Regions from separate parts of the Homo sapiens genome. Here region 1 is linked to region 2. The links are contacts of gene promoters, found by promoter capture Hi-C in blood cells and fetal thymus (Javierre and others, 2016). All regions are on one chromosome and are shown on one strand. Each heading gives the region's core, a stretch centred on a gene start or on the middle of the fragment in contact. The rest is flanking DNA. Distances are from core to core; before and after follow the strand shown.

Evidence for each region. The method cuts DNA at HindIII sites, captures the fragments that hold promoters and counts their contacts. A CHiCAGO score of 5 or more calls a contact.
Region 1: a fragment that was not itself captured here is called in contact with the fragment with the promoter of TGM2 in region 2 in 1 of 17 cell types (monocytes); the score reaches 5.8 in monocytes.

What each region holds. Positions count from the first base shown.
Region 1 is chr20:38,205,979-38,211,311 of GRCh38, reverse strand. It overlaps KIAA1755, which reads left to right. Exons shown (of 14, transcript NM_001029864.2): 14 at 1-809. Among named protein-coding and RNA genes, the nearest start is that of TGM2, 43 kb to the right of the region's middle. The HindIII fragment of the contact is 1,323 bases long and covers 2,890-4,212 here.
Region 2 is chr20:38,161,449-38,166,519 of GRCh38, reverse strand. TGM2 (transglutaminase 2) reads left to right here and starts at 1,250. Exons shown (of 13, transcript NM_004613.4): 1 at 1,250-1,331; 2 at 4,921-5,071. The coding sequence starts at 1,322. RefSeq lists a silencer at 958-1,397. The HindIII fragment of the contact is 3,789 bases long and covers 1-3,435 here.

The DNA of each region.
Region 1 (5,333 bases), core at 2,302-4,801, 42 kb before region 2:
CCCCACAATGAGGCTGTGAAGGGGAGAGAGGCAGGCCTGGGCCAGGCACAGGAGGACAACTAGGGCTTCTCAGGAGCTGTCTCAGCCAAGAGTCACACACTTGATACCTAAAATGGCTTCAGGAATCTTCCAAGACTGAAGACTTCCCCAGGTGTGGTCTAGGGCCTGCCTGCCTCAGAGCCATGAGCAGAGCCGGTCAAAAGGCTTCCTAGGGAATCCTACCCCAGACATTAAAATAGACTCTTGGTGCTGGCAGGTGGCTGGAATCTGCGTTTGTAGCCAAGTGCTCTTCCTGTGTGACTCAGCAAAGTGGGGGTGCATTTGGGGAACACCCGGGGCTGGGGCCTGAGTCCTCCACCCAAAGCCAGGTTTGATTCTTGCATTCCCCTCCCTGCCTTCCATCCAGACAGGCCCAAAGATGCAAGAGGCGTTGATCAGCCCATCTCCATCCATGCCTGTTGCCTCAGAGAGGGCCGACGGCTTTTAAAATGCTGTTGCCATAGCAACAGCATCCAGCCAGTGGGTACCACAGGCAGGGAGCCACAGAAACTGGGGTGCTGGGATGGAAACTGACTTGTGAGAGACCACAGCTACTGCTAGAAGGAAGGGGGGCAAAGCGGGCACAGGTAATCTAAGAATACTTGGGCGGGAGGAGTCCCCAAGGTTACCTTGTGCATCCCTCTGTCCCCAGAAAGAACTGTACCCCAACAATCTCTCCCCTCACTGCATCCCCTGGGGAAGAAGGGAATGCAGAAATGAAATGTCATAATGAGTAACAATGTATAAAAATATCGAATAATAACAGCTAACATTTCTTTTGCATTTTCTTTGTGCCTAGCTTTGAGCTAAATCCTCTAAAAGCTTTACAGGGCTTGTTGAATTTTTTTTACAACATTATGAGGACTGATTCCACCCTATTTTACTGAGGACAAAGCTGAAACTCAGAGAGATTTGGAGGTACCTTGCCCAGTGCCACAGTGAGGGGCAGAGCTGGACTTGATCTGGGCCTAGTTTATTGACTTTGCCCAAATATGCCCACAGTAGGGGCATGGCATGGCATGGCCTCCCCCAGAGATTCCCTGCGAGTGATGACATAGCTTTGAATCAGCAAAGCCTCAGCCCCTGAGAGACTGCTCTGAGGAGGCAGAGGCCACAGTGCCCCTCCATGGGATTTTTAAACAAAGTTTGAAGCCTGCTGTGGTGGAAGAAGATGGGCTTTCAAGGAACCCCAAGTCAGCCAGTGATGTGACTGTCAACATCCCACTGTGATGGGAACACTTTTTTCAAGCTCAAGGGGCTGGTAGGCAAGAGACAGAAAGAGAAGCACAGCCTGGAAGTCAGGCACTTCAGGTGCCACTCTGCCCTGTTGCTGATGGCCTGGTCACCCGAGGCAGGTTGCTTCCTCTCTCTGGTGCTCAGTTTACCCCATCTTTCCAATGGAGGCGTTGGATGGATGAGGATCTTTCTCATCTTGGAGAGCCCTGCTTTTGAATCCAGGCTTAACAGCCTAGTGCCTCTGAGTAGATAGGTGCTCCTCAGTTTTTCCATCTGTCCACTGGATTTGCCAAGCCTGCTGGGTCAGGAAAATAAGATCTCTGGATCCTTGTGTTCCACACCAAGACTTCTTCCTTTCCAGAGGAGTAGCCATCTTGTGAAGGAACAAAGCTTTGAAAAGACTTTTCACTGCTGGGCAGTGATGTGGGGCAGACATAGGACTGAGCCCCAATAGAAGTCTAGGCACTTTACAGTTCGCAAAGCACTTTTTGTCCATCTATTTCCCATCTGATATTTACTACAACCCTTTGGGTCACAGAAGTCATACTCTGAGATGGCCCCATTTTACAGATGGGAAGACTAAAGCCTGGAGAGGGGCAATGACTTGCCCAAGGTCACACAGCCAGGAAAGGGGCCAAGAAGGGGAAAGCACAGGGTCTGGGCCTGGTTCTGGATCAATGCCAAACCCAGGATTGTGGATGAGCGTGTGTTTTGTCAGCCACTTTGAGGTAGGCCCCTCACACCCTTGTGACACAGACAGGGTGGCTGTCACACCCACTTTAGACCCAGACAGGGTGGCTGGCTGGGGTCAGAATACAGTCTGACCTCATAAAGCAGAGATGTCCTGTTCTCCAGGGGCTGTGAATTGGCCTCCAGCCCAGGACAAATTTGCCTCGTCTCAAACCCCAGCTGAAAATAGCTCTCTGAGGCCAGAGCCAGAGAGTCCCCTGTAGGGTAAGTGCTCTGGATAGGCGGCAGGACTCTGGGGGTCCCATTGCCCTCTGCCTGGGGCATGCTGGGGAACTCTGGGTAGTCAGGTACTTCCTTAGGACCTCCTTTCCCCATCTGTGAAATGGAGGGATTAGGTCAGACCAGGAAGGAAAACTGGTGGTGTTTTGCATGTGGAATCTCTGACCTGCCCTTCCAGTCCTGCTTCCCTCTCTGTGCACTGACCATCCATCCAGGTACCCAGGCTGGAAACTTGCAAGTTGTCCTCAAACCTCCCCTTAACCCCTAAATCCACTCTCCTGATCTCTCTGTTATCTTCTACTTCTCTCTCCCTCCATCGTCCTCACCCTCATCCCAGCCTCCATCCTCTAGCCCCAGACAACTATAACAGGGTCCGCAGTGGTCTTCCTGCAGTCACTTGGATCCCCTTCATCTGTTCTCCACCCAGAAACTAGAGGGGTATTTCAAAATGTAATATAATGTCAGCCCCGCTTAACCCTGAACAGTAGCACCTCATAGCTCTCCAGATAGAAAATCCAACCTTTCTGTGATCTACAAAGCCTGTGTTGTCAGCCTCTGCCCTCCACTTCAGCCTCATCTCAATCTCCATGTCTTCTGAGTTCCAGAAGCACTAACTTGTTTTCATTTCCTCAGCCATTCCAAGCTTTTTCTGGGGTCAGGTTCCCCAGAAGTGGACCTAGGGGTGAGGATTCAGGTACAGGTGATTCATTGAAGAGGTGATCACAAGAGAAACCAGAAAGGCAAGCAGAACAGGGAAGGGAGGGAAGCCAAGGTGCAATTTCAGACCAAGTCCCTGCCTCTGCCTGACTGCGTGGGGGAACTCTGGAGGACATTTTACACCTCCAAGGCACTTCAGGCTTTCTGCAGAATCATGTGGCACAAAGCAGAGTCTGGTAGCTCCAGGGCAGACCTTGGAAGAGAGTTGCAAGTGTGGGCCCATAAAAGATAATATTCTGTATCAATAATATGTAAAAAGCTCTCACAGCTAAATACTACTATTAATAATAGTAAATTTTAAACTGGACAAAGGACCTGAATAGGCTTTTCTCCAAAGAAGATGTACAGATGGCCAATAAGCACATGACAAGATATTCAACATTACTGGCCATCAGGGAAATGCAAATCAAAACCACAAGGAGATATTGTTTCACATCCACAAAGATGGCTATAATAAAAAGACGTATAACAAGTGTTGGTGAAGATGTGGAGAAATCAGAACTCTCATACACTGCTGGTGGCAATGTAAAATGGTGCAACTACTTTGGCAAGCAGTTTGCCGGTTCCTCAAACTGTGAAACATCAAGTTATCATATGACCAAACAATTCCATTACTAGGTCAATACCCAAGAGAAATGAAAACATATCCACACAAAAATTTATACATGAATGCTTATTGAGAATTATTTCTGATAGTCAAAAAGTAGAAGCAACCCAAATGTTGATTAGCTGTTGAATGGATTTTTTAAAAACGGATTTTAAAAATATACACATAATGAAATATTATTTAGCCATTAAAAAGGAATGAAGTCACTTCCTAACATTTTACGAAGCCACTCTTATCCTGATATCAAAGCCAAATGTGGACATCACAAAGAAAATTACTAAACTTATGAATATACCTCATGAATATAAATGCAAAAATCCTCAACAAAATGCTAGCAAACCAAACATGACAGCATCTTAAAAGGATTATACAGCATGACCAAGTGGGATTTATTCTCGAAGTGCAAAGATAGCTAAACATAAGAAAATCAATCAGTGTAATATGCCAAATTAATGGAATAAAGGAAATTAAACCACACGACCATCTTAATCAATGCAGAAAAGGCATTTGACAAAACCCAATAGCTTTTCATGATAAAAACACTCAGAAAAATAGGAATAAAAGTGAACATACTCAACATGATAAAAGGCATTTATGAAAAACCCACAACCAACATCAAATTCAATGGTGAAAGACTAAAAGCTTTCTCTCTGAGGTCAGGAGAAAGACAAGAATGCCCACTTGCAGCACTGCTATTCAGTATTTTACTGTAAGTTCTAGCCAGCGCAGTTAGACAAGAAAAAGGGGAAAAAGGCATCCAACTGGAAAAGCAGAAGTAAAACTATTTATATATTTAAAAGATCAGATCTCATTATTTTATATCTCAAAAATCCCAAAGAATCCACACGAAAGCTACTACAGCTAATAAATTCAGCGAAATTTCAAGTTAGAAGATCAACACACAAAAATCAGCTGTGTTTTTATATACCAGCAACAAACAATTCAAAAAGGAAATTAAGAAAGCAATTTCATTTACAACAGCACTAGAAGAATAAAATACCCAGTACTAAATTTAACCAAGGAGATGAAAGATTTATACACGGAAACCTACAAAACATTACTGAAAGAAATTAAAGAAGACCTAAATAAATGGAAAGACACACTATATTCATGGATAGGATTGTTAAGACGTCAATACCACCCAAAGCAATATATAGGTTCAATGTAATCCTATCAAAATTCCAACTGCTTTTTTGTCCAGAAATAAAAAGCCACTTCTCAAATTTAAAACAGATTGCAATAGGCCCCAAATGGCCAAAACATCTTGGAAAGAAGGCCAAAGTTGGAGGACCCAGAGTTTTCAATTTCAAAACTTACTGCAAAGGTATAGTAATCAAAACAGTGTGGTACTTCCATAAAGATAAATGTATGGACAAAGGAATAGAATTTTGAATCCCAAAATAATCCCATGCATCTATGGCCAATGATTTTTGACAAGGGTCCCAAGTCCATTCAATGGAGAAAGAATAGTCTCTTCAACAAATTATGCTGAGACAATTGGATTTCCAAACATAAAAGAATAAAGTTGGACCCCTGCTTCACACCATATTAAAAAATTTACTAAAAATAGATCAACAACCTAAATATAAGAGCTAAAACTATAAAACTCACAGAAAAAGCCAGGTGCATTGGCTCACGCCTGTAATCCCAGCACTTTGGGAGGCCAAGGCAGGTGGATCACGAGGTCAGGAGATCGAGATCATCCTGGCTAACACGGCGAAACCCAATCTCTACTAAAAATACAAAACAAAACAAAACAAAAAAA
Region 2 (5,071 bases), core at 1-2,500:
GCTCAGGGCTCACAGTGGATCCGGAAGCACAGGAGACCAAGAGACCAGAGATACCAGGATGAGAGATAGGACCCCTGGTTGCCAGGTTCGAGAAGTCCTAGGCTGAGTCCCTGGAAAGTTAGTCTTGCTCCTTTCTGGCACACAGTGGGGCCTCAAGAAAGCTCAGTGGATGGATGGATTGAGGGAGGGAGGGAAGAGAAGGCCGAGGGAGGGATGGATGAAGGGATGAGTGGATGGATAGGTGGGGGGGTAGGTGATGCATGGGTGAGTGGATGGATGGGTAGATGGATGGCTGATTAGATGGATGGCTGATTAGACAGATACAAGGATGGGTGAGATCGGAGGATTATCTGGGTTTTGCTACAGGAAGGGACATGGGTGTGTCTGTTTTTGCAGGTGTGTCTGCATGTCTGTACCTGAGTCCATGCCTGCATGTGTGTCTACCTCTGAGTAGCCACATCTTTGTGTGTCTGTGGGTGCCCTCTCTGATTTTGCGTCCACATCTGACAGTGGCATTGGTGTCTAGGAGGTCTGTGTGTGTGCCAGGTGCCTCTGGACACCTGCTCATCTGTGTCCACAGCTGTGTGTGGCTCGCGGTCAAGGCTACCTGGCTGTGTCAGGCTGTATCTATGTCCTGGTGTGTGTCTGCCATTCGAATCTGAATTTGTATCCATGTCACTGTGTCTGCGTGGCCAGCCGTGTTTGGTGTATCTGTGGGAGTGTATCTGTGTTTGTGTGTGTATCTCCACAGCCCTGTCTTGGTGTGTCTGCGTCTGCTCTCTGTGTATGTATATCTGAGTATGTGTGTGAGTGTGTGCGTGTGTGTGTGTGTGTGTGTGTGTGTGTGTTGGGGGTGGGGAGGTGTTCTTGATCCCAGATCTGACCTAAGAGTCCACATCTGTGTGTCCAGGTGCACCCCGGTTCCGTTGTGTGTTTCTATGAGGGTGCTGCGTGTGTCTGTATCTGAGTGTGTGTGTCCAGGTGTCTGTTCTCCAAGGTCTGAGTCTGTGGGTCCAGGTGTGTCTGTATCCTGGGCTAGTTGTGTGTCCCTGTCCGCTCCCCCAGGGGGCGCCCTCGTCCGGCCGCCGTCCCTCCCTCGGGCTCCGGTCCCCTGGGTGAGCCCCAGCGCTGGCGGCGTGGGCCCGGGACTGGGCAATGGGTGGCCTCCCAGGTCGCCGCCTTCCCGCGGGGCCCCGCCCCCGGCCCGCCCCAAAGCGGGCTATAAGTTAGCGCCGCTCTCCGCCTCGGCAGTGCCAGCCGCCAGTGGTCGCACTTGGAGGGTCTCGCCGCCAGTGGAAGGAGCCACCGCCCCCGCCCGACCATGGCCGAGGGTGAGTATCAGAGTCACCGCAGCCGCCACTCAGGGGCCCCGGGGCATTGGGGGTCAGGACCCGGTGGGAGCTGAATCCCTAAGTCCTGATTTGGAGAGCAACAGGCAGACCGGGCTGGGTGAGGAGGCGTCTCAATGCTGCTTGGAGCCTCAGTTTCCCCATCCACACTGCATAACCATTAACCCTTGCCTCCCTGGATCAGGTGAGGCAATGGAACGCGACGGGGTGTTGTAAACTGTAAAGTACTGTCCTGGCGGACCACTGGCACGTGTCCTCAGTCAGTCAGTGGGGGCTGGCTCTCTGATGTGTGCCTGGAGCTGTGCAGGGGGTGCTGGCCTGGCCTCAGAACACTTAGGTTTGGGTGGTTCTTGCCAGCCAGGACCAGGTGGTGTGCATGCCACGCCGGTGGTGTGCAAGCCAAGCCTGGCTGAGTCCTTGGCTCCAGCGGCCAGAGAGGAGCTTTCGGCATCCTATCCAGGAGCCTTCGGAAATCAGGCTTGTTCTTCCCGCCCTCACGTTCTGCAACCCTAGACCTTGGCCAATTGTTGAGTCTCACCTATAAAATAAGGACAACAGTGTCCTTATTTTATAGGACAAGGTTTATGAGATTTGTTTTCCCCCAAGACCCCCACCCATCTGTCACCCTGACCGTGCCCTGGTCCTCTGCTCCAGCCTTTGGTGCATCTGTGAGGAACGAGAGGAGTGGAACAGAGGCTTAACTAATTTCATACTGGTGCCCCTGACTCCCTCCCCACACACAAGCAGCACTCTCGTAGGTCCCAGCTGGAGGGATTTCTACAATGGAGGATGTCACTGCTGGACCCAGAATCCCAGCTGGCTCTTGGGTCAAGTTCATCTGGGGATGGCTTCTGCACCCATTGCAACCCCCAGGAAGGGGTGTGGGACAGGGACATGGGGCAGGTGGAGCAGGAATGGGTGGCAGGAACTGTGGACCCACCTGACCCTGCTGTGTGATCTCAGCCACCTGCCTCCCTCGGGCCCAGCTCCCAACACACTGTGATGTGTCGCCTCGGTGGCCGCTTGTCCTCAATGCATCTTCTCACCCCCATGCTCAAAAGCAGGGCTCAGTGGGGCTGGGAGATCCTGGAGATGCCAGTTATGATGAGCCTCCAGCCCCATGTCACAGTGGCCACTTCTGACAGAGGTCTCACTGGCCTAGAAGGCCTAGGCCCTTTCTAAGTGCAGAAATCCTATAAATCCTACAATTCTAGACCTGCATCTTTGGAGCTGGGCGTGATTTCTGGAAACCCTTCTTCGGACAACAGATGGAGAAAATGCCCCAGCTCCCACAGCCCAGGGACTGGCCGTATCTCCAGGGTCTTCCATGGGAACAACAATGGCCTCTTTCCTGCTCAAGCTCCCTGGGTCTGAAGTTTCCAAAAACATTTCCTCGCCGCAATAGGCCAGCAGGAAGTTTTTCCTTCTGGCCACTGAGGTCTCTTCTGTTGTGATTACACGGGGACCGACATCCCTGATACTTCAGTGGCGCAGAACTATCTGCCCCCAGGTTTGAGAACAACACAGGACATGGTGGCGAAGGGGTGGTCATAAGAGGGGCTGGAGAAAAAACTGAGCTGTAGTGAGGTGGTTCCCAGGGCAGAATCCTACAGAATCCTACAGCTCTGGATTCCAATCCCAAAGCAGCCACTTGCTCTGGGACCTGGAGCCACCTGGTGTCTTTGTCTACAAAATGGGAATCATGATAGCATCTATGTAAGCGGAGTTGTTTTGGGATTTAAGTCGAGATAATTCACATACAAGGCACTTTGCATCTCATTTTTGGAATAGTCGATGGTGAGCAGGAGACCTGGGCTCTCCCACTGCAAGGACCAACTTGCGGCGTGACTTTGAACAAATTCCTGCCCCTGGGCCTCACTTGGACCACATGCTGTCCAGTGGCTCCACACTCAGAGTCTGTCTTGCCCACTCCTCCCACCTTAAGGGCTTCCCCATCCTGACCTTGAGCTTGCCAAGGTTTATGAGATTTGTTTTCCCCCAAGACCCCCACCCATCTGTCACCCTGACCGTGCCCTGGTCCTCTGCTCCATCTGAAACTGTAAATGGAACTTTCACGTATCAAGCTTCTGTCCTGGGCTGGGCCGTGGGGAAGGGGGTTCCCAACACATCTTCTAGACTCACAGCAGCCCCTTGAGACTTCAGAGGAGGAGTCACAGAGAGGGAGAGACACTTATCCAGGCTCACACAGCAACACAGCAGAACTAAAACCTACCTCTGGAAGTCTCCAAAGCACCTATCATGTTAAAAATGTTTTGTTTTGGAGAATATTGAACATACACAAAAATAGACAGAATTGTTTAATAAATTCCTATGTCCTCATCACCCAGCACTGACCACCGTGGTGTCTCCTGCCCCTGCGCACCTTCATCTCAGACATCACATCATGTCATCTGTCAATGTTTCAGTATATGCCTTTAAAGGATAAGGACTCTCTTTTTTTTAACACAAACAAATTAACAAAAATTCTTTGATATCACCATTATGCCATCAGTATTTAAATTTCCAGTTGTCTCATACATGTAATAAATGTTTTAAAATACTTTTTTGAAATCAAGATCCAAATAGATCAATACATCACAACGGGTTTAAGTTTCTCTTTATAGGTTCTCTCTTCAATGTTTTTTTCATTTTCTTTCTTGCAATCTATTTATTAAAGAAACCGGACCCTTTGTCAATAATTTCCCAGTATATGAAGTTTGTCAACTGCATCCTGGTTCTGTGTTTAACTTGTTCCTCAGCCCTGGGTATTTCCTGTAAATTGAACATTGGATCTAAAGGCAAAGGCCATGTAATTGACCTGTACCAAATACTGCCCCTGCTTAAACCAAAAGAACCCTCTGATAGCAATAGAATAGCTCGTGTTTATTGAGTATTTATTACACAACAGACATTGTACTAAGTGTTTTACATGCATTAATTCATTTCTTGCTCACACCAGCCCTGGGAGGTAGATACTGCTGGTCCCATGGCTGCTGGAGGTCACACAGCTAGGAAGTGCCACAGGGGGTCACGACCTTGTGATTAAAAGATTTAGGCAAAGCTGGGCACTGTGGCTCGCACCTGCACTTTGGTAGGTCAAGGCAGGAGCCATCACTTGGCCCAGGAGTTCGAGAGCAGCCTGGGCAACATGGCAAAACCAAAAATGAAGAAATTAGCTGGGCACATACCTATAGTCCCAGCTCACTGATAAATGAAAAAATTAGTGGTGCACGCCTGTCCTCTCAGCTACTCAGGAGGCTGGGGTGGGACGATCCCTTGAGCCCAGGAATTCAAGGCTACAGTGAGCTATGATCACACCACTGCACTCCAGCCTGGGCAACAAAGCAAGACCTTTTCTCAATTAAATTAAAAAGAAAAAAAAGAGTTAGGGAGATTGGGCCCCACCTAGCCCCCGTGTGACCAGGGCTGGGGAGACAGGTCAGTCGAAACAATGGCTGTGCTTTGTGGGGAGTAAGAGGGCACAAGGCCCCCATGTCTAGGGAGGGCAGGTGCATCACTGGAGGTCTGAAGGATGCCCCCGAGGCTCATGCGTCTCCTTCTGTTTCCATAGAGCTGGTCTTAGAGAGGTGTGATCTGGAGCTGGAGACCAATGGCCGAGACCACCACACGGCCGACCTGTGCCGGGAGAAGCTGGTGGTGCGACGGGGCCAGCCCTTCTGGCTGACCCTGCACTTTGAGGGCCGCAACTACGAGGCCAGTGT